Linked DNA regions of Homo sapiens: all the other regions are linked to region 1. The links are contacts of gene promoters, found by promoter capture Hi-C in blood cells and fetal thymus (Javierre and others, 2016). All regions are on one chromosome and are shown on one strand. Each heading gives the region's core, a stretch centred on a gene start or on the middle of the fragment in contact. The rest is flanking DNA. Distances are from core to core; before and after follow the strand shown. Region 1 holds the start of ADM (adrenomedullin). Region 2 has its middle 22 kb from the start of WEE1. Region 3 holds the start of LOC105369149 (a long non-coding RNA gene). Region 4 has its middle 26 kb from the start of SWAP70. Region 5 holds the start of WEE1 (WEE1 G2 checkpoint kinase). Region 6 overlaps SWAP70 (switching B cell complex subunit SWAP70). Region 7 overlaps ZNF143 (zinc finger protein 143).

Evidence for each region. The method cuts DNA at HindIII sites, captures the fragments that hold promoters and counts their contacts. A CHiCAGO score of 5 or more calls a contact.
Region 2: a fragment that was not itself captured here is called in contact with the fragment with the promoter of ADM in region 1 in 1 of 17 cell types (naive B cells); the score reaches 6.5 in naive B cells.
Region 3: a fragment that was not itself captured here is called in contact with the fragment with the promoter of ADM in region 1 in 8 of 17 cell types (activated CD4 T cells, naive CD8 T cells, naive B cells and 5 more); the score reaches 8.6 in activated CD4 T cells.
Region 4: a contact is called between a fragment that was not itself captured here and the fragment with the promoter of ADM in region 1, in 1 of 17 cell types (neutrophils). The highest score is 5.5, in neutrophils.
Region 5: the fragment with the promoter of WEE1 here is called in contact with the fragment with the promoter of ADM in region 1 in 5 of 17 cell types (naive CD8 T cells, total B cells, activated CD4 T cells and 2 more); the score reaches 6.0 in naive CD8 T cells.
Region 6: a fragment that was not itself captured here is called in contact with the fragment with the promoter of ADM in region 1 in 1 of 17 cell types (naive B cells); the score reaches 7.1 in naive B cells.
Region 7: a fragment that was not itself captured here is called in contact with the fragment with the promoter of ADM in region 1 in 2 of 17 cell types (naive B cells and total B cells); the score reaches 6.9 in naive B cells.

What each region holds. Positions count from the first base shown.
Region 1 is chr11:10,303,601-10,307,269 of GRCh38, forward strand. ADM (adrenomedullin) reads left to right here and starts at 1,473. Exons shown (of 4, transcript NM_001124.3): 1 at 1,473-1,629; 2 at 2,080-2,198; 3 at 2,349-2,498; 4 at 2,732-3,669. The coding sequence starts at 2,101. The coding sequence ends at 3,041. It also overlaps a transcript of SBF2 not described here. RefSeq lists silencers at 385-444, 935-1,034, 1,215-1,264, 1,945-1,994, 2,015-2,064 and 1 more. The HindIII fragment of the contact is 5,037 bases long and covers 1-3,669 here.
Region 2 is chr11:9,593,382-9,597,102 of GRCh38, forward strand. No RefSeq gene overlaps it. Among named protein-coding and RNA genes, the nearest start is that of WEE1, 22 kb to the left of the region's middle. RefSeq lists silencers at 3,080-3,129, 3,290-3,359 and an enhancer at 3,600-3,679. The HindIII fragment of the contact is 1,713 bases long and covers 1,139-2,851 here.
Region 3 is chr11:9,778,831-9,782,603 of GRCh38, forward strand. It overlaps SBF2 (SET binding factor 2), which reads right to left. Exons shown (of 40, transcript NM_030962.4): 39 at 2,677-2,808; 40 at 1-1,686. The coding sequence ends at 1,588. The region is part of intron 1 of SBF2-AS1 (SBF2 antisense RNA 1); the gene reads left to right. It overlaps LOC105369149 (a long non-coding RNA gene), which reads left to right and starts at 1,717. Exons shown (of 3, transcript NR_188521.1): 1 at 1,717-1,745. The HindIII fragment of the contact is 5,847 bases long and covers 1-3,773 here.
Region 4 is chr11:9,636,224-9,639,736 of GRCh38, forward strand. No RefSeq gene overlaps it. Among named protein-coding and RNA genes, the nearest start is that of SWAP70, 26 kb to the right of the region's middle. The HindIII fragment of the contact is 7,235 bases long and covers 1-3,513 here.
Region 5 is chr11:9,571,799-9,575,273 of GRCh38, forward strand. WEE1 (WEE1 G2 checkpoint kinase) reads left to right here and starts at 1,872. Exons shown (of 11, transcript NM_003390.4): 1 at 1,872-2,711. The coding sequence starts at 2,136. RefSeq lists an enhancer at 1,098-1,950 and silencers at 1,525-1,874, 1,895-2,104, 2,395-2,494. The HindIII fragment of the contact is 14,841 bases long and covers 1-3,475 here.
Region 6 is chr11:9,722,481-9,725,911 of GRCh38, forward strand. SWAP70 (switching B cell complex subunit SWAP70) reads left to right here. Exons shown (of 12, transcript NM_015055.4): 4 at 2,178-2,405. Among named protein-coding and RNA genes, the nearest start is that of SBF2-AS1, 34 kb to the right of the region's middle. The HindIII fragment of the contact is 541 bases long and covers 1,656-2,196 here.
Region 7 is chr11:9,518,664-9,522,429 of GRCh38, forward strand. All of the region lies in intron 14 of ZNF143 (zinc finger protein 143), which reads left to right. Among named protein-coding and RNA genes, the nearest start is that of WEE1, 53 kb to the right of the region's middle. The HindIII fragment of the contact is 2,643 bases long and covers 196-2,838 here.

The DNA of each region.
Region 1 (3,669 bases), core at 223-2,722:
GGGGACTCGAGAGATGGGACATGACTCGCCCACCTTCACACAGCGAATTGCCGGGAGGTGAGGACTAGAAGCCTGTTTGGCTAGTGGTCTCGCACCTTTGGCCTCTCCGTCGAGTCGCTGGGCTTCAGGACATTCGATTAGAGGAGTGGTTAGTAGGACCCCAGAAACCCACAAGCACGAAGCAGGAAGCCCCGTGGCTTAGCCTTTCCTTCCCAGTTTGGCCCCCAGGAGAGAAGTAAGAAAGAGAAGAAGCTGTGATGAAAGAGCACAAACGGGTGACAAACGTGTCTAGCGTGATTCATCATGAACAGGCACAAATTCTTTGGGCGGGGGCTAGGACTCTCCTTTGCCCCTTGAGAAGTTGGTGACCCCAGCCTAGAGGAATCCACGCCGCGCCCCAGTCGGCCGTGCTAGCGTGTCGGGCCGAGTAGGGACTCTGCTGCTTCCTACCTGCAGGGTGACTTCCCCTCTCTGCAGATACCTCCCCTCTCTGAGCTTGAATTTTCTACCTGCTGAAATGGGAAAAGGAATGTTACCTTCCTTGCCTGACTCAAGGGTGGCTGTGAAGCTCAAAGTAGACTGGGATGTGGCCGTGCTTGGTAAACTGTAAAATGATTAGCATACGTGAAGCGTTAGTGTGCTCCCTGGCAGTCAGTCCTCACGTTTACGATGGATTAATGAAGGCAGCCAGGCACAATCTCAGGTTATGACCTTATAAGGCATAATAGGATTACAAGGAGGCAAAATGAAACAGTATATTTCCTCCTAATTTTGGTTATTCCTATGTTTCCAAATAGAAATGAAAATTCTGAAATTTCAGATAATTCCCCCCTCCAAATCCCAATTCTCAATTTAGCTTTTCTGAGCCTTGTCCCTACCGTGAAATCTTACTAGCTCACCCCGAAACGCCGGGGTCTTGGTCCTCTGGGGGACTAGTGAGTCCTGCTCCTCTCGGCTTTGCTCCGTCCCTGCCCCGGCCCCTCCGCGGGAGTCTGGGGTCGCGGCCCGGTCAGGCGCCAAGCCGGCAGGGGGGCGCGGTCCACTTGAGGCCACAGCTCCCCAGGTCCAGGGCTCGGGCCATCCGCGCTGTCCCTTCCGCGGGCTCTTGCTGTTCTTCGCCAGGAGGCTTTGCACTCCGGGCCGCATGGGTCCTGGATAAGGACCTCAAGAGGTTGTAGTGGCGCCCCTTCGCTCCGGCGTACTGTCTGAACCCTGTGCCCAAAGAGGGCTGTGGCAGTTCCTGCACCAACCGCCTGGAGCCCATACCTAAGCCCTCTGGGCACGAGGGACCTCCTCTCCCCCGCTCCCCCCTCCCCCCATCCCAACTCCAGCCCCAAAGGAAGCAATGCGCGCGTCCGAGAGCAGGAGCGCGCGTGGCTGAGGAAAGAAAGGGAAGGCAACCGGGCAGCCCAGGCCCCGCCCCGCCGCTCCCCCACCCGTGCGCTTATAAAGCACAGGAACCAGAGCTGGCCACTCAGTGGTTTCTTGGTGACACTGGATAGAACAGCTCAAGCCTTGCCACTTCGGGCTTCTCACTGCAGCTGGGCTTGGACTTCGGAGTTTTGCCATTGCCAGTGGGACGTCTGAGACTTTCTCCTTCAAGTACTTGGCAGATCACTCTCTTAGCAGGTAGGTGCCGCAGACCCTGCGGGTTAAGAGGTGGGGTGGGGGGCAGTGCTTGCCAAGGCCCTAAACTGGGAGCGCTGGGTGAGGGGAACAACCCACTTTGGAGGGTTCTCTGAGAGATAGATACACCCCATATCCTGGGCCCAGCTCGTGCACACAGCTGGAGGTCCAGAGACCCAGTCCCCTCTGCTCCGTCAGCCAAGTTCCAAGAAGTTGAGCAGAGACCCTCTGGGAGCCTGGCGGGGTGCAGCGGCCTCCCCTGCGGGGCCTGTCACCCGGCCGGCGCGTGCAAACGCCTCTGGCGCCTCTCTGCGCGGAGGGAGATAAGCGTCTGAGCCAGGGAAAGCGCGGGCTAAACCCGCCTCGCCGGGGCCCCTGCCCGCCCTCCGTGCCCCGCCCGGGCGGTGCAGCTGGCCCGGGTGCTCACGCTCGACTCTCTTTCTTCTTTTCCAGGGTCTGCGCTTCGCAGCCGGGATGAAGCTGGTTTCCGTCGCCCTGATGTACCTGGGTTCGCTCGCCTTCCTAGGCGCTGACACCGCTCGGTTGGATGTCGCGTCGGAGTTTCGAAAGAAGTGAGTCCGGGCAGCGCCTTCCCCCTTGCTGGTACCTGGCAGGCAAGGGGAACTGACCGTTGGTCCCGAAGGTCTAGAAGTGAATGGGAGCAGGGACAGGCCTGGGCGTCACCTGAACGCACGCGAATCGGGTCTGCTTGTGTTTTCCAGGTGGAATAAGTGGGCTCTGAGTCGTGGGAAGAGGGAACTGCGGATGTCCAGCAGCTACCCCACCGGGCTCGCTGACGTGAAGGCCGGGCCTGCCCAGACCCTTATTCGGCCCCAGGACATGAAGGGTGCCTCTCGAAGCCCCGAAGACAGGTAACTACGCCCTGTGCTGTCCAGGGACGGGAGGGAAGGAAGGTGTGCGGGAGGAGTTCTCTGTCTCCACTCCCCTGGCCCGGGGGATCGTCGGGGCTGGACCGCAGCTCAGATGGCGCGAGCAGTTTCCAGCTCCCTCTGGCTCTAGAATGGCTCCCGTTCCCGGTGTTGGGGCCAAAGCTCTGCTTGATGGGGTCTCAAGTTGCCTTTCTTCCCCCTCCCCCCGCCCGCAGCAGTCCGGATGCCGCCCGCATCCGAGTCAAGCGCTACCGCCAGAGCATGAACAACTTCCAGGGCCTCCGGAGCTTTGGCTGCCGCTTCGGGACGTGCACGGTGCAGAAGCTGGCACACCAGATCTACCAGTTCACAGATAAGGACAAGGACAACGTCGCCCCCAGGAGCAAGATCAGCCCCCAGGGCTACGGCCGCCGGCGCCGGCGCTCCCTGCCCGAGGCCGGCCCGGGTCGGACTCTGGTGTCTTCTAAGCCACAAGCACACGGGGCTCCAGCCCCCCCGAGTGGAAGTGCTCCCCACTTTCTTTAGGATTTAGGCGCCCATGGTACAAGGAATAGTCGCGCAAGCATCCCGCTGGTGCCTCCCGGGACGAAGGACTTCCCGAGCGGTGTGGGGACCGGGCTCTGACAGCCCTGCGGAGACCCTGAGTCCGGGAGGCACCGTCCGGCGGCGAGCTCTGGCTTTGCAAGGGCCCCTCCTTCTGGGGGCTTCGCTTCCTTAGCCTTGCTCAGGTGCAAGTGCCCCAGGGGGCGGGGTGCAGAAGAATCCGAGTGTTTGCCAGGCTTAAGGAGAGGAGAAACTGAGAAATGAATGCTGAGACCCCCGGAGCAGGGGTCTGAGCCACAGCCGTGCTCGCCCACAAACTGATTTCTCACGGCGTGTCACCCCACCAGGGCGCAAGCCTCACTATTACTTGAACTTTCCAAAACCTAAAGAGGAAAAGTGCAATGCGTGTTGTACATACAGAGGTAACTATCAATATTTAAGTTTGTTGCTGTCAAGATTTTTTTTGTAACTTCAAATATAGAGATATTTTTGTACGTTATATATTGTATTAAGGGCATTTTAAAAGCAATTATATTGTCCTCCCCTATTTTAAGACGTGAATGTCTCAGCGAGGTGTAAAGTTGTTCGCCGCGTGGAATGTGAGTGTGTT
Region 2 (3,721 bases), core at 745-3,244, 710 kb before region 1:
AAAATACCTCAAAGGAACATTTACATCACAGTTCACATTGTTTAGTTTTATATGGTTAATAAACATTTTGAAGAGCATATACTTGTTCTGATTTTTGACATAGTTGTGGCATGAAATAGGTTTCCAGGCCTGGAATTCCAATTTATGCTTACTAATTCATTATGCCAATGGGAAATACAGGGTTTTTTTGCTTGATTTTGTTTTTTTGTTTTTGAGACGGGGTCTTGATCTGTTGCCCAGGCTCCAGTGCAGTGGCGCAATCTTGGCTCACCACAACCTCCACCTGCTGGGTTCAAGCAATTCTCCTGCCTCAGCCTCCCAAGTAGCTGGGACTACAGGCACCCGCCACCATGCCCGGCTGATTTTTGTATTTTTAGTAGAGACAAGGTTTCACTATGTTGGCCAGGCTTGTCTGGAACTCCTGACCTTGTGATCTGCCCACCTCAGCCTCCCAAAGTGCTGGGATTACAGGTGTGAGCCACCGCACCCAGCTTGGAAATATAGGTTTGGTATACAATTCAATTTAGGATGATTATCCAGGAGAGGAGGAACTTTTTTGCAGGTGAGAGTATGAAGGCTCAAGGGAGTAAAATAATTTAGGAAATCAATTTAGTAGGTAGCAGAGTCAGAATTCCAACTCAGATCTCATAGCAAAGAATCATGCTTTTTCTAGACATATGAAGGTTGAAGACAAATACTAATTAAAGAGGCGATCTCCAATCTTTTGGGCACCAGGGACCGGTTTTGTGGAAGGTAATTTTTTCACTGGGGTTGGGGTGTTGCAGGGGAATGGTTTCAAGGTGATTCAAGCACATTACATTTATTGTGCACTTTATTTCTATTATTATTACATTATAATATGTAATGAAATAATTATACAACTCACCATAATGTAAGTCAGTGGGAGCCCTGACCTTGTTTTCCTGCAACTAGATGGTCCTGTCTTGGGGTGATGAGAGACAGTGACACATCATCACGGATTAGGTTTTTACAAGAAGCATGCAACCTAGAGCCCTCGCTTGTGCAGTTCACAGTAGAGTTCGTGCTCCTAGGAGAATCTAATGCCACGGCTGATCTGATGGGAGGTGGAGCTCAGGTGATAATGCAAGCAATCGGGAGCAGCTGTAAATACAGATGAAGCTTCTCTGGCTTGCCCGCTGCTCACCTCCCGCTGTGCGGCCCGGTTCCTAACAGGGCACGAACTGGTACCATGGGGGTTTTGCCATTAATTCAGGGGTTGAGAACCCCTGAGTTAAAAGACAGTGTTCAGGCAGCAAAGGAGAGTAAGAAGGTGCAGGCTGAGAATTAGGAAAACTGGATGGAATCTGACAGAGAATAAGAGAATTTTGAAGGAGAAATTGATTAACTGTGACTAATACAGAAAAGATTGAACAATGACTCAAAGCTCTGTGAAGGTATCTAGAGTTCATTAGAAGATATTTGGTGAGCGGTGTCAGTACAGGGGAAACAGCCAGATTACAATGGGTTGAGATGTAAATGGGAGATGAGGAAATAGAGATAGCAAGCACAGATCATTTGCAAGAAGCATGGCTGAAAGAGAAGGGGAAGGGAGGAGAGAGCTATAATTAGAGGGGAATCTTCTTTGGGTTTTGCTGGGGTGTTTTGTTTTGTTTTGTTTTGCTGAGATAGGGTCTCACTTTGTAGCCCAGACTGGAGTACAGTGGCCCAATTTTGGCTCACCACAGGCTCGACCTCCCAGGCTCAAATGATCTTCCTGCCTCAGTCTTTCAAGTAGCTGGCGACACAAGTGTGCACTACCACTCCTGGCTAATTTGTGTATTTTTGGTAGAGCCAGGGTTTTGCCATGTTGCCCAGGCTGGTCTCAAACTCCTGGGCTCAAGTGATCTGCCCGACTAGGCCTCCCAAAGTGCTAGGATTACAGGTGCGAGCCACTGCACCTGGCCTGGGTTTTGCTGATTTTGGTATTATTTATCATCTACGTGCTAAGTGTTTTACATACATAATGACATTTAATCCTCATAAGAACTCTGTGACAAAATCCCCATTTTTCAAATGGTTTTTAAGAGAGGTAAAATGTTTCCCCAATTACAAAGCTACAGCATCAGGATACGAAGCTACAGCATCAGGATTCAAACCTAAAGTGTTTGGCTGAACCACTAGCCAAATTTGTAGCAAGTTCTCTGAGTTTGGAGCGGAGGAAGAATAAGTGTGAATGAGACAAGTTTTGGGAAGTGCAGGAAATGGGGAGGGGAATTCCAGTTTAATGCTCTCTCCTCTGAAGTTGGAATTGTGTCCCAGGAACTGAAAGTGCCTCAGGGGACTGAGGACAGAGGCACATGTATAGAAGGAATGCCTCCTCACTCTGCTGCTGCTGCCTTCTTTCCTTCTGGATGAAGTGGCTAAAAGTCTTCAGAGGGCCAGGAGCGGTGGCTCACGCCTGTAATCCCAGCACTTTGGGAGGCCGAGATGGGTGGATCATTTGAGGTCAGGAGTTCAAGGCCAGCCTGGCCAACATGGTGAAATCCCGCCTCTACTAAAAATACAAAAATTAGCCAGGTGTGGTGGCAGGTGCTGTAATTCCAGCTACTTGGGAGGCTGAGACAGAAGAATCACCTGAACCTGGGAGCTGTAGGTTTCGGTGAGCTGAGAATATGCCACTGCACTCCAGCCTGGGTGAGTCTTTAGAGTATACTATATAGATATTTAAAGCAGCGTTTCAAGAAGTTTTTATGATTAGAGAAATTTATGTGTTATAATAAAGTAAGAAAAAAAACAGCAAACAAAATTGTACACATGGGATTGTTGTTAAAGCATTAAAAGAATGAAGGCCAACAACAGCTGTCATTTACGTGACTGGTGGGATTACTGAAGCTTTCCCACTCTTTTTTCCTTTTAAAAAATATTTGAGGCCGGGGCCGGGCGCCGTGGCTTACGCCTGTAATCCCAGCACTCTGGGAGGCCAAGGTGAGCGGATCACCTGAGGTCGGGAGTTTGAGACCAGCCTGACCAACATGGAGAAACCCCCGTCTCTACTCAAAATACAAAATTAGCTGGGCATGGTGGTGCATGCCTGTAATCCCAGCTACTGTGGAGACTGAGGCAGGAGAATCGCTTGAACCCTGGAGGTGGAGGTTGCAGTGAGCTGAGATGATGCCATTGCACTCCAGCCTGGACAATAAGAGCGAAACTCCATCTCAAAAAAAAACTCGAGCTCAAGAGTTCAAGACTAGCTTGGGCAACATAGTGAAACCCCCATCTCTACTAAAAATACAAAAATTAGCCAGGCGTGATGGCATGCACCTGTAGTCTCAGCTACTTGGGAGGCTGAGGTTGGGAGGATCACCTGAGCCCAGGAGGCGGCAGTTGCAGTGAGCCAAGATCTGCACTCCAGCCTGGATGTCAGAGCAATACCCTGTCTCTCACACACACAGACACAAACAAACAAACAAACAAAAAGTTATTAACATATGCAGTCAATAGAAATTGAGCAAGTCACCTGGCTTGCAAAGATTTGTCCAATAATCATCCTCTACTGCCCCCACAAATTTCTAATAATGGGCACCACTCCCTTGAATACAGGGGCACCTATATGATCTGGGCTGGACCAAATGGAGTTTCTCCTGGAACCTTGCAGATGCTCCCGTTGCTGGCAAAGATAAGGAGGCCAAGCTGCATAGCAAAAGCTGATTTGCAGGTGAAGTGAATGAACCAACACAGAAGCAGAATTGAGAAATGAGGA
Region 3 (3,773 bases), core at 175-2,674, 520 kb before region 1:
GGCAATGTAATGCCTTCACGAAAGTTAAAGTAATCCAGTTACAAAAGAAGCACTGTGTATAGTCTCAAATAGCTGAAGGTACAATGGGCTCCATATTTTACAAAGTACAAAAAATTATTTCATATACAAAGAAAAATACAAATAATGTGCAAAAACCATTTTCACAGGTGGCAATTTATAAAATGGAAATGATAGAAAAGTCCTTCATTCTTAATTATCCCCAGATTTCTTATATATTAACACAGTTCTATTTCCTAGTGTGTGGACAATTTTAAATTTGAAATTCTGATTTATTTTTAATCTACAAAGTATTTTTATTTTTTAAAAGGGAACCATTTCATTATTGAAATCTTATGAATGCATCAGTTAATTTATATTAAATTATAAGCAGGCTATCTGAAAAACAAGGATATAGAAATCATATATACACATTTTTGAAATATTAGTTTAGTATTTAACATATTAACATTTCAAAACAAATGCAATGATCTAGCTACCTATGACGCCAGCTGGTGTCAGTGGTTGTAGCGAAGATGCTGTTTCTGTTTACCATGAGCAAACAGCATTTCTTGGGTCTTAAGCTAAACAATCACAAGTTATCAAAGTAAAGAAAATCTAAAGACAGTTCTTACTTTTCATGTGTAGAAGTGTAGTTTGGGTATCCAGTCATGCCACAGTGTGACTGTGGTCAACACAGCCCTTGTCACAGGTGCGTATGGTCCTAAATAGCTGGCCTCTGTCTTTCCAACATCTTCACTTCATTGGGAATTCAGTGCAAGTGTTTGTTTTGTGAGTTAGTGCATTCAGCTTTTTTTGCATGTTATTTTGAAAAAGAAGCTGTCAGGAAGCAGAAGATACATAAGAACACAAGGCCCTGGATCCTCAGAGCACCTCTGGTCTAGAGAATTCAGTGTTTTGGAAGTAGTGTTTTCCTGCATTGGGCTGGTCATTGTTGTACCATTCCCTGGATAATCTTTTTCCATCAGAATAATGCTGTGTGCTCCCTCTTTGCCTGCTACTGAACAATGACGTCTCTTGTTGTGAACCCCACTGGCAGAGCACGGACCATGGAAGCATCTTTTGGCAGCACCAGAGAACTGAGCATCTCAAAGGTCAGGCATTACAAGTAGATGTCTCTCATAGGAAACCTAGTCCAGGTAGAATATGAGACAATCTTGGAGGGTTTTGATTTTTGCTTGTTAAACAGGTCTCCGAGGAAATTATGACCTCAGAGAACAAAAAAGGATCTATAGCTTTCATGAAGAAGGACCCAAGTAGGTGGTAGCCATTTTGCCTGGGTGAGGTTCACAGTTGGCTCAGGAGACATCTTCTGATCATTAACCACTAAGACCCTGTTAGAAAAATTTAGTGCAAGATACAGGGAGTGCATGGGGCTGTTGACCAGACCTGTGTGAAACACCTATTCAGGTTAAGTAGATATAGCAACCCCTGCAAGAGGGGACTGGGCAGGAGAACCTCAGGCCCTGGGATAACTTGTTGTCAGCTCCTCAAGGATCCATGCTTCTTTTTCTATCTATCTGGCAGCATGAGTTCTTCTGTTTCTTCTGCGTGGGTTGACCATGGGCATCAGGCATCAGAGATACAACTCTGGATCTTGTCCATCCATTGCTGGGCACTCTGTCCATCCTGGGCGCAGAAGTTATACACACGTTTGCTGGTCTTGAGCTACAAAACCAAATGACAGTGAACCAGAGATGAAGGGCAGGGCTGTTTTATGGATTTGGGTAAGTGGTAAATCAGTTCCTGTGACCTTTCTTTTCCATACTGCCCCAGAACGTCTGTATGAATTTTTCTTCCTCAACTACCATACTGTTATTGCCTTTACTTTTGTGGTCTCTAGAGTCATAGGGGATGTTGATAGAAGGGTACTGGCAGGAAAGGGAGACACACTGGGAGCGCCTTATTTTGCATTTTCTTAGTGTCGTCTTTGACTAAGGAGGAAGGGTCAGCAATGAATGGTGCCTTTAACCTTTCCCATGCACTGCACCAATGCACTGAAGGTGAGGGAGCTCCTTGTGCTCCAGGGGGATGCCTGAGATTCATGCATACCATAAAGTTGGCCTTCGTGTCCCCTTTCTTTAGTTGGAGCCATATTGGAAGCCCACTGTCAGGAAAACGGTCTCATGGCCTGAGCAGGGCCATAGAGGATGACCTATCCTCTTTATAAAGCCCTGCTTGACTCCAGGGACTACATAAGTCTCCTTCTATTATGTGGCCTATAAAGTGCCCCATGGCCTACCTAAGGGCTGCTGAAGATGTTAGCGTAGACACTTATCATGTGTGACTAAGGACAGTCTTTTGTGGGTAGTCAAGCACGAAGACCACTGAATACTAGGGAAATAGCATCTGTTCTTGAAAGTAGGTGGTGACTGAAATAACTAACAACATTTAACAAGGAGTTCATCTGTTTCCATGTGCGCTGGACTCCTTTTGCACAAAGCAATATGTAGCTTTTCTGAGACATACAGACAGGAAGAGAGGATAGCCTTGGGGGTCAATAATGCTGAGTTCAAGCTCTGGAACAATTCCCATAGCCAAGGGGGTCTGTCATCCATCTGTAGTCACCACCAATTACTCTGAGGGCTCCATCATTCTTGGAGACAGACAGAATGATGTGCAGACAGAGCCAGGAAAAGAGAAGTAAGATCAACTTACATCAAAGAAAGCCTTGTCACTTGTGTGCTTTGGGGCTCCCATGCTGGGGCCAGCAGGGATGACCATTTCTACTTCAGCCAGATCAATGTGGCCTTTACAGCTTGTGTCCTCACCTGAGTCATAGTAGCGCAGCTGGAACCAAAAGGATACAAGTGAGATATAAGAGACAGAAAGAGAAAATGCCATGGCTTTTCAAACTGCATTTGAATACCTTCCTCTGTACCTTGGTTATATATGCTGAACTATGCCTCGAAGAATACACAAAAAATTAATTAATAATACTTGTTGCTTCTAGGAAGAACTAGGTGGCTTGGAGAAAGCATTGGGGGAAAGACTTATGTACTGTTTGAAAATCAAACAAATAAATGTATTACATCTTAAAAAATAGAATCAAGGCTGGGCATGGTGGTTTATGCCTGTAATCCCAGTCCTTTTTGGGAGGTGAAGGTGGACGGATCACTTAAGCCCAGGAGTTCGAGACCAGCCTGGGCAACATGGTGAAACCCCGTCTCTACAAAAACATACAAAAATCAGCCAATCGTGGTGGTGCATGCCCGTAGTTGCAGCTACCCAGGAGGCTGAGGTGGGAGGATTGCTTGAGCCTGTGAGGTCGAGCTGCAGTGAGCTGAGATCCTGCCACTGCACTCCAGCCTGAGTAAGACCCTGTCTCAAAAAATAAAAAAAAAAAAAAGAAGTCAAGTAACAACTGTAAAAAGTATATGTAACATATAAAAAGAGGGCTAATGTTTAGTAATATACAGAATTCCCAGAAATTGATAAGAAAAAGATAAAGTAGAAAAATGCTCAAAATATCTCAACAGGCGAGTCACAGAGAAATACAAATGATCTATAAACATCTGAAAAGATGATCAACCTCATTAATCAAAGAAAAATAAATGACAATAAATGAGATTTCACTTTTGGATTGAGAAATATTAAAAATGGCTGATGATATCCAATAAGGTACTAGATCATCTCAAATACTGCCAGTGTGAATATAATTTGTTAGAAATTTTTTGGAGAACAATTTGGCAATATCAACTAAAATTTAGAATGTTTATGCCTATTGAAACATCTTTCCAGGCCGGGCACGGTTG
Region 4 (3,513 bases), core at 62-2,561, 670 kb before region 1:
GAGCCACCACACCTGGCCCTATGTCTTTGCGTATGATGCGCTCTTTACCCAGGTACTTTTTTTTCCCCAGGTGACTGGGTCTCGTTCTGTCACCCAGTCAGGAGTGCAGTGGCATGATCCTAACTCACTGCAGCCTCAAACTCCTGGGCTCACACAATCCTCCTGCCACAGCCTCCCAAGTAACTAACCATACACTTTTGGCATTACTGCAGGCCAAATCCAACACGTCTTTCAAAGTCCAGCTCAATGGGTGCTGCTATGAAGCCTGACTAATCTTCTCAGCTTAAAGTTTTGTGTGCTTCCTCTGTATTTCTGCGATTGAAGAAGTCCACTGCAGTGTAAAGGACTCAAGCTGTGAATTGATATCAGGACTTAGGGGCTCAGGACCTGGCTCTGTTACTCCTTAGCTGCCTCTTTTTACCTATCTCAGCTTCAGTTATTATCTAAAACAGATGGAAATATTTCCCTCACAGAATTAAAGTCACTTTTATGACCATTTTGGTTTTGAGTGAAGGAAAATCCATCCTGAAGAGGGCATAGATTGGTTTATATAGGTGAAAAGTCCAGGGGTAGAGATGGCTTCAGGCATGGGGTGGACTCAAAGCTCAAATGCTATCAGCAGGAGTCTGACTATCTTCTCTAAGAGCTGCCTTTTGCTCTGTCACCTTTATGCCCAGGTTCAAAGAGTAGCCTGATGGCTGGCAGCACTCTTAGAACCCAATCTTTCTGCTTCAAGTCCAGCTGACTAGCTTGAGAACATCTTTCTCAAGTCACAACAAAGTTATCACGGACTCTCATTGGGTCATGTGCCCATCCCTGAGGTGGTCACTATGGCCAGGAGAATTTGATGCTTGGATTGCCTAGGGCCCAGGGGACTTGTTCTACCTCAGACCCTGGGGTGCATCCCTGGCAGCAACACATGGGATGAGTGTGGGTGGGTGGAGTTTCTGCAATGAGAAGTTAGGGTGCATTTCCAGCATGGTGAAAGGATGCTAGATGAGAATAACTGCAGAGCTCCACCATAGTTGTGCTGGGGATCAAGTGAGACAATATGAGGAAACTGACTTCGAAAGTCCTGATCAGGCTAGGCGTGGTTATACCAGCACTTTGGGAGGTCAAGGCAGGGAGATTGCTTGAGGCCAGGAGTTCGAGACCAGCCTGGGCAACGTGTCAAGACCCTGTCTCTACCAAAAAACAAAACAAAACAAAAACCAAATTAGCCAGGTGTGGTGACATGTGCCTATAGTCCTAGCTACTCAGGAGGCTGAGGTGGGAGGATTGCTTGAGCCCAGGAGTTCGAGGTTGTAGTGAGCTATGGTGGTGCCATTGCACTCCAGCATGGTGACAGAGAGAGACCCTATCTCAAAAAAACAAAAAAGAAGTCCTGTTCAAACATAAATGATTATTATTATTTGGTTATGTTTCTCTGTGGCACTTAGCACTTTTTTCCTTCTAGCCAGAGTTACCCACTTCATAGTTTAATCTTCCCTACTCCACCCTGAGCAGCTGGAGAGCACGGTCTGTGTTCTAGTAATCTCTAGAGGATTCCACCATTTCAACTCAGCACCCAGAAAATATAAGGTACCCAATAGATGATTGTGGAATAACTTGATTAGTCTGAAATCCAAAGCATTGCGCCCAGAGTTCTGTTAATCCCTAGGCCAAAATCTCAAAAGGCTTTCAAGAACTTGAACCTTTCCCTGGAATCATAGCTAAATAAGCTCTGGCCTTTTTCATAGTGGGTGGGGTGAGATAAATAATTTCAGGAAGATGTGTCCTTGCATTGATTTGTTCACCTGGCCAACCTAAGGCCATCCAGAGAAAGAAAAGTCTTGGTTTGTTTATTTTCTGTTTATTTATTAAATTTCTGGTTTATTTTGCTCTTACTGCCCTCGTTAAATGGTGTGGGCTTCAGGAAAGTGCAGACTGAATGAAGTAACTTCCCGAAGGCGCTGACCTGCAGGGCAGGTTTGGGGCTCCCTCCTGGTCCAGGAGGCCTAAGCGTCCAGGAAGTTTTGAGTTTAATGAAAGGAATTGGTGATCAGTTCTAGTCAAACATCTGGGAGCCCAGCCCAGGTGTTCTCCCTCATGTCTGTGTTGTGTTCATGTCCTTCGATTTCCTATCTGAACACGGAGTCTGGAGCTCCTGAGGATCACAGGAGTTTGGAAAACCAAAAAAACCTTTTTTCTTTCTTTCTTTTTTTTTTTTTTGAGATGGAGTCTCACTCTGTCGCCCAGGCTAGAGTGCAATGGCGGGATCTCAGCTCACTGCAACCTCCATCTCCTAGGTTCATGTGATTCTCCTGCCTCAGCCTCCCAAGTAGTTGGGATTACACGTGCTCACCACCACACCCAGCTAATTTTTGTATTTTTAGTAGATACGGGGTTTCACCATGTTGGTCTGGCTGGTCTCGAACTCCTGACCTCAGGTAATCTACCCACCTCAGCCTCCCAAAGTGCTGGGATTACAGGCATGAGCCACCATGCCTGGCCAGAAAGGCAAAGAGGGAATGAAGGACCCAGATCACCTATTGAAATAGTCTACATGTGGCCCCAGTCCCAGAATTAGCTGGAGCTACTTTTTGGCTGATTTTGCAATGGAGACATTAATTCTTTTCAGCCACAAGCATTAAGTAGAAAAGGTAATGTGGCTTAACTTATAATATACTGACCCACTAGTTTTCAACCTGCCTCATCTTATGTTGCAGCAATGATGCTATTCTAGGAACTTGGGCCTTACCAGGGCAGAAACAACAGGGCCATGCTTTACAGAAGGAAAGTTCCATGATTGCAGGTATCTGAGGAAGTTCATACGCACATAATTAAATTATAGTCTTTGTTAGAAACAGGGTTTCAGCTCTCGTAGACCAAAGACAATTGCTGATGGGTAGGAAGTGGGAATGAGAACAGTCCAAGGACATTGTTGGCAGGCCAAGGGTCACCAAAGGAAACTCTGAGCTGGGCGGGTCAGCAGCACTCGGCCAGCGCTTGGCAGGCTCTGCAGCATGAGCTGGGTGTTGCTTAAAAGGAACTCCCTGTACCACATCTTCCCTTCCTGGATGGTCCAAGTCACTCCCAACTCACTTCTGGAAAGATGTCCCTTGACTTCCAGGTTCTGACCTTGCTTCCCCTTGGTGCCTCTGTCTCTTCCCCAGCTGGCATCTTATCTCGCTTCCTGACCCTAGCTTCCTGTCTGGGCCTCAACAGTGCTCTGAGAACTTCTTCTTTGGGTAATGCTCCCCCTGCCTAACTGCCTTTTTGTCTCTCTTCCCGACATGCAATCACAGGTGCTCTTCCCAGGGACCTTAGGCAGTATGGCCTGATGGAAGGAGCCTGGATTTTGAAGCCAAACAGCTGTGTGTGTTTTTGTTTTGTTTTTTGAGACAGAGTCTTGCTCTGTCACCCAGGCTGGAGTGCAGTGGCACCATCTCAGCTCACTGCAACCTCCGCCTCCCAGGTTCAAGCAATTCTTATGCCTCAGCCTCTGGAGTAGCTGGGATTACAGGCACGTCT
Region 5 (3,475 bases), core at 622-3,121, 730 kb before region 1:
AAATGTAAATTATCATTAAACCCATGACAACTGTTCAACAATATGAATCAAAACAACAAAACCACATCAACGAACATCCACTGATGTCCTGAATTCACAGAGTGTGCTCTAATCCACTGCTAGTGAGAATGTATTGTGTTTCTGGAGGGGGAGTTTGCCAGTTTATATCCTTTGACTGAGGAATTCTAACTCCAGGGAGGTATCCAAAAGAGTATTTTAAAAAGGCCAGGCGCGGTGGCTCACGCCTGTAATCCTAGCACTTTGGGAGGCCGAGGCGGGCAGATCACCTGAGGTCAGGAGTTTGAGACCAGCCTGCCAACATGGTGAAACTCCGTATTTTGCATTTTGTAAAAATACAAAAATTGGCCAGGCCTGGTATGTGCTTGTAATACCAGCTACCCGGGAGACAGGAGAATCGCTGGAACCCGAGAACCCGGGAGGTGGGGGCTGCAGTGAGCCGAGATCGCGCCACTGCACTCCAGCCTGGGGCGACAGAGCGAGACTCCGTGTCGAAAAAAACCAAACCAAACAAAAAACATGGAGAAGGAAGCATATACACCACGGGGTTGTTTACAACAGAAAACTGGAAGAGGCCGGGAGCGGTGGTTCACGTCTGTAATTCCAGCACTTTGAGAGGCCGAGGCGGGCGGATCACTTGAGATCAGGAGTTGGAGACCAGCCTGGCCAACATTGGGAAGTTCGTCTCTACTAAAAATACAAAAATTAGCCAGGTGTGGTGGCAGCCGCCTGTAATCCCAGCTACTCGGGTGGCTGAGGCATGAGAATCGCTTGAACTCTAAAGGCGGAGGTTGCAGGTTGTAGTGAGCCGAGATCGTGCCACTGCACTCCAGCCTGGGTGACAGAGCAAGACCCCGTCTCAGAAAAAAAAAAAAAAATAAATAAACAAAGAAAGAAAAAAGAAAACTGGAAGAAACGTGTAAGTGCATTAAGGGACAGATTAAATCAGTTTAACGAAGCACTAGGGAAATTTTTTAAAATTGCGTTTGAGTTTGCCGCGAGCCGGGCCAATCGGTTTTGCCAACGCATGCCCACGTGCTGGCGAACAAATGTAAACACGGAGATCGTGTGCCGGGCACTTGGTTTCGTGGTGGGCAACTGTGCTGCTGTTTCTTTTGGCCGCGGACAAGGTCGGCAGAGGTGGACCCCTGCTTGGGAGAGCTCTTCTCGCTGTGCTGACACCCGCCCCTAACAGTCACCCACCCCGGGGAAATAATGGGGCTCGGAGGCCTCCTCCCAGCCAGTGTCCAGCCTAAGCACATCGGCTCCCGCAGTTCAGAAAGGTCCCGAGGCCCGAGTCACCATTTCCGGCTCAGACCTCGACCCTGAACGTGGCTGCCCACTGCCACGCCCACTACGCCCCAGTGGCTCGCCCCAGGGGACGAGGGGCAAGAAGCGGCCTCCGAGGGCAGCGGCCGAAGGCCATTCGGTCCCTGGCTCTTCCCAGCTCGCAGAGACCCGGAGGCGCTGCCCGGCCGCCTGCCCCTCTTCAGATCCCCCAGCACCGGAGGAGCAGCGAGGGGGGTGCGTCCAGGCCGGCTTTCGGGTCGGCTTAGGCGAATCCAGCTCTCTTTTGCCCCTCCCAGAAGGCCCAGCCCCGTCCGGGCGGTGTTCGGGCGGCGCCGGGCCGGGCCCCCCGCCGCCCCAGGCTCGCTCATAGGCCCGGAACACCACAGCCCGCCCAGACTTGGCTGGCGCCGAGCCGGGGGTGGAGCCAGCGGGTTCCCGCCAAAATCGCGTAGCTGGTCCTTCCCCCGCGGGCTACGTCGCGCCCTCCTTTTTTTTTCAAACCCGGAGCTGCACTGGGATTGGTGGACTGGGCACTCACGTGGTTAACGGTCGCGGGAAGCCGCGGAGCCCGAACCTGAGACTGGACCTGAGGAGACCTCAGCCTCGGTGCTCGGGCCGCCCCGCCTCTGCCGGAAAGTCCGCGCCGCCGCTGCCGCCACCGTCCGCAGCCCGAGCGCCCCGGAGCCGCAGGCCGCCGCCGCGCAGAGACGCCGCGGCTGCGACTAGGCGCGCCCAGCCGCACGTGGCGGACCCGCCCCCAGGCCCGCAGTGTCCTGGACCCCGCAGGCCTCCGCTCTCCTGTCCTCGGCCCCGTCCCCAGGGCCGCGATGAGCTTCCTGAGCCGACAGCAGCCGCCGCCACCCCGCCGCGCCGGGGCGGCCTGCACCTTGCGGCAGAAGCTGATCTTCTCGCCCTGCAGCGACTGTGAGGAGGAGGAAGAAGAGGAGGAGGAGGAGGGCAGCGGCCACAGCACCGGGGAGGACTCGGCCTTTCAAGAGCCCGACTCGCCGCTGCCGCCCGCGCGGAGCCCCACGGAGCCCGGGCCCGAGCGCCGCCGCTCGCCCGGGCCGGCCCCCGGCAGCCCCGGCGAGCTGGAGGAGGACCTGTTGCTGCCCGGCGCCTGCCCGGGCGCGGACGAGGCGGGCGGTGGGGCGGAGGGCGACTCGTGGGAGGAGGAGGGCTTCGGCTCCTCGTCGCCGGTCAAGTCGCCGGCGGCCCCCTACTTCCTGGGTAGCTCTTTCTCGCCGGTGCGCTGCGGCGGCCCAGGAGATGCGTCGCCGCGGGGTTGCGGGGCGCGCCGGGCGGGCGAAGGCCGCCGCTCGCCGCGGCCGGACCACCCGGGCACCCCGCCACACAAGACCTTCCGCAAGCTGCGACTCTTCGACACCCCGCACACGCCCAAGGTGAGAGCGGCGGGCGCGGGCACCCGGCGGCCGGGGCCGCGGCGCCGGAGGGGCCAGCGCCGCTGCCTGGGTTCGGTTACAGAAGCGGCCGGCCGCTCCCCCCTCGCTTTCCTGCGCCGCCCCCCAAAGTTGGCAGCCCTTGTGTTTGGCCCTGCCCCGAGGTTGTCCGTTGAGATTATGTAACTGAACAATGGGCCTCGTCTGGAACTTCATCTTACAAAGGGGCCGATCGGCCCGTCCGGGTGGCCAAGGATTTGCCGCCCGTTGAGTCCGGGCCGCCCCGAGCGTGTCAGCCCCGAGTGCGGCACCGATAACGCGGTTCGCGAGGATGCTGGAGGGTGCCGGCCCGGCCACCTGACACTCCCGAGCCATAGGATGCCTTTTAAACGCGGCGATCGGGCCTGTAATTTGGGCGGCGCGGGCAGAAGGAGTTTAAAGAAAAATAATTGTCCCGCCCTGATCGTGTCGTGTCGTGTGGCGTGGATGGGGGAAAGGTCTGGGGCATGCAGGGAGACTACGCTTGGACTTGGGAGTAAAGGCTGGCCTTCCAAGCATTTACAGTCCTACAGACTCATCCTAAGTCCAGGCAGTACTGAGGCCTGTTTCTGGACAAGGTCTTGGCCCAGCATTTGTTTTTATCGTGGGTTTGCGGTGCCCAGAGTTTGGCCGGCCTCCGTGTGATTAGGAACATCCTACCGTAGATAAGGTATCTTAAAGAAGGAGGTGTTCAGCACCTGTGTTTTGAAAGGCCTTCGAGTACTGCG
Region 6 (3,431 bases), core at 676-3,175, 580 kb before region 1:
ATGGAAGTACTAGGGGTTTTAATTAAAATACAGATTCTGATTTTTGGTCCTTTGGTTGGTCTGACAGTCTTCATTTCTAACAAGCTTCCAGGTGGTGCCGACGTCACTGGTCCGCATGCTTCGTTTTGAGTAGGAATATTCTAGAGGATGTAGGACTTGAATAAATACCAATTAACTGGGTCGAGAGGTGGGAAAAGGTATTCTAGACAGAGAAGACAGAGTGGGGAATGACATAAAGCATAAGGAAAATATGGTAAGAGGGTAAACTACTTATAATCTATGGCAAGTGGTGGCAAACTACAGCTTGCTGGCTAAATCCAGCCCACAGCCTATATTTGCGTGGCACATGTGCTAAGGAATAGTTTTTATATTTCTAAAGGGTTGTAAAAAAACAAAATCAAGGAAGAACACATGATAGGGAGGCACAAAGCTTAAATATTTACTGTTCAACCCTTTACAGTAAAAGTTTGCATCCCCTGATCTATGGTATTGGTGGTATTGGTGGAGTGTAAAGTCTGAGGTGGGACATGTTTGAGAAAGTAGGCTGGGGGATGATCACCAAGGGATGCAGAGGAGCTTGGCCTCTGTCTTTGAGGTGATAGGGAGCCAGGGCAGGGCTTAAAGAGGGGAGGGTCAGGCTCTGGCTTTTGTTTTAGAAAAATCCCTCTGGCAGAATATGTATAAAAGGTGGCGACCTGGAGGTACAGATACCAACCAGGAGGCCCGACCAAAAGCAGATCAAATAGGAGTGACAGAGTTCAGAGCTGCCTGGGACAAAGTTTTAAATTTTATTTTCACTGCAACCCATAGGAAGATAAACATTTTATATCATGACCCAGCACACACACACACTCAAAGCAAAACTTATCACAAAACACTATTTCTTTATTGTGGATGAACTCACATGTTTTTCATTCCATTAAAAAAAAATGCTGGTTGCTGCCCACTAAGTTGACTTCATAGTGGGCCATAACCCACAGTTTTCAAACTTATTAGGGAGCTCATTTAGGGAAATAAAACAGCAGGATTATATCCTTGGTTTGATGTGGGGGTTGGGGAGCAAGAATCCTGACATGGATGTGTGAATGGTGTTATTCCTAATGGAAATCAATAATACAGCGGGGAAGCCATTTGGAAAGTAGAGAGGATTCATTCATTTTTGGACATATGTTGAGTTTGAGAGCACTGTATAGGATATTTGGGCTTTCCAGAAAATAAGAGGTATCAATTCTCATTCAGTTTTACTGCCTTATTGTTTTGTTTAACTGCTGTTATTTCTTTCCTTCTTTACTTTTTTTTTTTTTTTTTTTTGAAACAAGAGTCTTGCTCTTGCCCAGGCTGGAGTGCAGTGGCACAATCGCCGCTCACTGCAACCTCTGTCTTCAAGGTTCAAACGATTCTCATGCCTCAGCCACCTGAGTAGCTGGGATTACAGGTGTGCGCCACATGCCTGGCTAACTTTTTTGTATTTTTAGTAGAGACAGGGTTTCGCCATGTTGGCCAGGCTGGTCTTGAACTCCATGCCTCAAGTGATCCTCCTGCCTTGGCCTCCCAAAGTGTTGGGATTATAGGCATGAGCCACTGCTCCTGGCCTAACTGCTATTATTTCAATAGCAGTATTTTCTACACAAAGTATGATGTTTTAGGATTTAGTAAGCTTTTCCTGCTCATGCTAGGTATTCCACCATTATTTACAACATTGTAGTGTTCCAGTGGGAGGAAGCAGCATGAATTTTAAATAATTGGCTTATGTGGAAAGTTTGTAAATTGATCAATAACTTGTACATATTACTTTGAGATGTTTAATTTAGCGCTTGTTTGTTGAGTAAGACTAATGTTCTGATATATTGAAATATTTAACAGCGAGTAATCAGATCACATTAATTAGTTTGTATGCTGTCATATATCTGCAGTTTGTTTTAGTTCTGCAGACAAATATACTACACTATTAGAGGGTTATCAGTTTTTGATTCCTTTACTTATTCTGCACTAATACAGACCAGTGGCATTTTATTTATACTTCTCTCCCTGTATTTTAGGAGACTCTAAAGGTAGGCATTTTTGGAACTGTAAAGAGTATTTCCTAAGTTGAACTTATCAGTGTTTATAACATAAATACATAACTATGTTAAAGTTTTTTTTAACTAGGAAATAATTATTTCACATTCTTTATGTAGATTGAATACCTGCTTAAGAAGCTTACAGAAGCTATGGGAGGAGGTTGGCAGCAAGAACAATTTGAACATTATAAAATCAACTTTGATGACAGTAAAAATGGCCTTTCTGCATGGGAACTTATTGAGCTTATTGGAAATGGACAGTTTAGCAAAGGCATGGACCGGCAGACTGTGTCTATGGCAATTAATGAAGTCTTTAATGAACTTATATTAGATGTGTTAAAGCAGGTAAGAATTCTGTTACTGTTTTTTTTTCTCATCTTTAGAATTTGACATTTTAAAATTAATATTTTTGTCACAAAGATGAGTATAAGTCACTTATTTTCTTACACTGATTTCGTTTTTTTATTTTTTGTTTTTTTGAGACAGTCTTGCTCTGTCGCCCAGTCTGGAGTGCAGTGACGTGATCTTGGCTTACTGCAACCTCCATCTCCTGGGTTCAAGGGATTCTCTTGCCTTGAAGGCATGCACCCCCATGCCCAGCTAATTTTTGTATATTTAGTAGAGATGGGGTTTTACCATGTTGGCCAGGCTGGTCTCGAATGCCTGACCTCAAGTGATCCACCCACGTCGGCCTCCCAAAGTGCTGGGATTACAGGTGTGACCCACTGGGCCTGGCCTGATTTTGAATAGGAATAAAATTTCTTATTTTTCCAGTCTTGTATTAGGCTTTCATTAAAAAAAATTATTTGTGCGATTTTAAAGTACAGTTAAGAATACAGTTAAAATATATATATATATTTTGGCTGGACGTGGTGGCTCATGCCTGTAATCCCAGCACTTTGGGAGGCTGAGGCGGGTGGATCACCAGGTCAGGAGCTCAAGACCATCCTGGCCAGCATGTTGAAACCCTGTCTGTATTAAAAATACAAAATATATATATATATATATATATATATATATATATATATATTTTTTTTTTTTTTTTTTTCCAAGACGGAATTTCACGCTGTCACCAGGCTGGAGTGCAGTGGCATGATCTTGGCTCACTGCAACCTCCGCCTCCCGGGTTCAAACAATTCTCCCGCCTCAGCCTTTTGAGTAGCTGGGACTACAGGTGTGCGCCACCACGTCCAGCTAGCTTTTGTATTTTTAGTAGAGATGGGATTTCACCAGGTTGGCCAGGACGGTCTCGATCTTTTGACCTTGTGATCCACCAGCCTTGGCCTCCCAAAGTGTTGGCATTACAGGCGTGAACCGCCGCGCCCAGGCCATTTCCAAAATATTTTATTTTGGAAATTCATAACCACTGAT
Region 7 (3,766 bases), core at 267-2,766, 780 kb before region 1:
CCGAGATTGCACCACTGCACTCCAGCCTAGGCAAAAAGAGTGAGACTCCGTCTTAAAGAAAAAAAAAAAAAAGCTTCTGGTTATTTTCATAGGAAACAAATTTTTGTATTAACGGTTTAAGCTATTTTAAGCTGCTTGTTACATATTGCCAAATTATTTTTCAGAAAGGTTTAGTAATCGTGTTATGGATCTAAAAGCTTTCTTTTTCACTGTACTCTTGCATTGAGGATTTTTTAAAATATTTACAGAATTAACAAGCAAAAGTTAAATTCTGTTTATTTTCATTTGACCACTGGTGAAGTTAAGCCTGTTTTTCATATTTGCCTGCAATCTGGTTTTTTCTTAATTGAGGTAAAATTTACATAACAATGAAATGCACAGATCTTAAATTTACAATTCAATGAGTTATGTTAAATATGCACCCATATAACTAACATCCTAAACAAAATGTAGAACATTTCTATCACGCTAGAAAGTTACCTTGTGATTCCTTTATAGTCAGTACTCACTCTCCTTAGGCAAAAACTGTTGTGATTGAATTAGTTTTGCCTATTTTTTTTTTTTTTGAGACAGAGCCTCACTCTGTCACCCTGGCTGGAGTGCAGTGGCACGTTCTCAGCTCACTGCAACCTCCCGCGCCTGGCTAATTTTTTTGTATTTTTAGTAGAGATGGGGTTTTAGCATGTTGGCCATGCTGGTCTCGAACTCCGGACCTCAAGTGATCTGCCCGCCTCGGCCTCCCAAAGTGCTAGGATTACAGGCGTGAGCCACCGCACCCAGCTTGGTTTTGCCTATTCTTGAACATTACATAAATGGAACCACAGTATGAACTCTTTTGTGTCTGGGTTTTTCTACTTAACGTTTTGGATATTTATTCACATTGTTGGCATGTAATAACAGTTCATTCTTTTTTATTGCTGAGCAGTGTTCTATTGTAAGAATATACCACAACTTGTTGATATATTCTCCCCTTGGTGAACATTTGAAATGCTTCCAGTTTTTGACTATTATGAATAAGATGGCAGTAAAAATATGTTTGTAGACATATACTCTCATTTGTCTTGGATAAATACCTATTTGTGGAATTGCTGGGTCATAGAATAGAGGCATATTTACCTTTCTATGATAGTACCAAACAATTCTCCAAAGTGGCTGGGCTGTCATACACTCCCACTAGCAATGTCTAAGAGTTCCATTTGTTCAGTGCTGCTTCTTGTGGTTAAAACGTTTTTAAAAAATAGGCTGGGCGCAGTGGCTCACACCTGTAATCCCAGCACTTTGGGAGGCCAAGGTCGGAGGATTGCTTGAGCCCAGGATTTTAAAACCAACCTGGGCAATGTAGCAAGACACTGTTTCCACCAATTTTTTTTTTTTTTTTTTTTTTTTTTTTTGAGACGGAATCTCCCTCTGTCGCCCAGACTGCAGTGCAGTGGCCCAATCTCGGCTCACTGCAACTTCCGCCTTCCGGGTTCAAGTGATTCTCCTGCCTCGGCCTCCTTAGTAGCAGGATTACAGGCACCCACCAGCATGCCCAGCTAATTTTTGTATTTTTAGTAGAGAGGGGGTTTCACCATGTTGGTCAGGCTGGTCTCCAACTCCTGACCTCAGGTGATCCACCCGCCTCGGCTTCCCAAAGTGCTGAGCCACTGTGCCTGTCCAATTTTTTTTTTTTTTTTTTTTTTTAATTAGCAAAGCATGGCAGCATATGCCTGTAGTCCCAGCTACTCTTGAAGCTGAAGTGGGAGGATCACTTAGCCCAGGAGGTTGAGGCTTTGGTGAGCCATGTTCATTGTACTACAGCCTGGATGACAGAGCAAAACCCTGTCTTCTAAAAAAAATAAAAAAGAGGCCAGGCACAGTGGCTCATGCCTGTAATCCCAGGAATTTGGGAGGCTGAGGCAGGTGGATCACAAGGTCAGGAGTTCGAGACCAGCCTGGCCAGCATGGTGAAACCCTGGCTCTACTAAAAATACAAAAAATTAGCATGGTGTGGTGTGCACCTTTAGTCCCAGCTACTCAGGAGGCTGAGGCAGGAGAATTGCTTGAACCCGGTAGGTGGAGGTTGCAGTGAGCTGAGATTGCACCATTGCACTCCAGCCTGAGTGACAGCGAGACTCCGTCTCAAAAAAATAAAAAATAAAAAAGAATTCTGTTTGTTTCATATTATCACCAACATTTGGAGTTGTTTTAAAGTTTTAGCCATTCTACTGGATGTTAAGTGGTCTATCATTGTGGTTTTAATTTACATATAAAAAAGCTAATATATCACTTGGTTATGATGTATTTTTGTATTTTGCTGGATTCAATTAGCTAATATTTTTTAAAGATGATTTTTTAGAGCTGTTATAGGTCACCACAAAATTGAGAGGTAGGTACAGAGACTTCCCTTACACTCCCTGCCCCCACACATACATAGCCTCCTGCATAATGAACACCCCCACCAGAGGAACACGTTTGTTACTGTTGAAACCTACACGTACACATCACAATCACCCAGAGTCCATCATTTACATCAGGATTCACTGTTAGTGTTGTACATTCTATGGGTTTGGACAAACGTATGATGACATACATCTATCAATAGAGGATCATACTCTATTAGAGTATTTTTACTGCCCTTAAAATCCTCTGTGACAATTTGCTAATATCTTGTTAAGGATTTTGGTGTCAATGTTTATGAACCATATTGATCTATAATTTATTATGAAATTATAAGAAAAAGTTTCATCTCCTGTTTCAATATCAGGGTTAGGCTTGCCTCATAAAACAAGTTGGGAAGTGTTCTCTTCTGTACTATTTTCTGATAGTTGTGTAAGATTGGTATTATTTCTCCATAAAAGCTTGATAGAGTTAATTAGGACACCACCATCTATGCCCAGAGTTTTCTTTTTGCGGAGGTTTTTTTTTGTTTTTTTTTTGTTGTTGTTGTTGTTGTTTTTTACTATGGATTCAAGTTTTTAAGTGGATCTATACTATTCAAGTTATCTATGTTTTTTTGTATCCATTTTGCTAAGTTTTGTTTTTGTAAGTTTGTCTGTTTCATCTAAGTTTTCATATTTATTGATATAAAGATGTTCATACTATTTCCTTATTATCTCTTTAATATACATAGGATCTGGGGGCCGGGTGCGGTGGCTCATGCCTGTAATCCCAGCACTTTGGGAGGCTGAGGCAGGTGGATCACCTGAGGTCAGGAGTTCAAGACCAACCCAGGGCAACATGGTGAAACCCCATCTCTACTAAAAATACAAAATTAGCCAGGTGTGGTGGCGCATGCCAGTAGTCCCAGCTACTCAGGAGGCTGAGGTGGGAGGATCATTTGAGCCCAGGAGGCAGAGGTTGCAGTGAACTGAGGTAGCACAGCTACACTACAGCCTGGGCGACAGAGGGAGACCCTGTCTCAAAAAAAAAAAAAAAAAAAGTCAGTGGAAGGTAAAGCAATTCTTAGAGGAAAATTTCTTTTAAATGCTTGTATTGGAAAAAAAAGGTTTAAATTGAATGATCTTAGTTTCTACCTTAAGAAAAATTAAACAAAAAAAGTAAATGGAAGGAAATAAGGACTGGGCGCAGTGGCTCACACCTGTAATCTCAGCACTTTGGGAGGCTGAGGCAAGTGTTCCCGAGTAGCTGGGACCCAGGCTGGCCTCAAACTCCTGGGCTTCAGGGATCCCTCAGCCTCAGCCTCCCAAGAAGCTAGGACTGCAGGTACAAGCCACTGCTTCTGGGGAAAAAAAAAAAAATTTAAATTGTCTACTGCCCTTCTGGA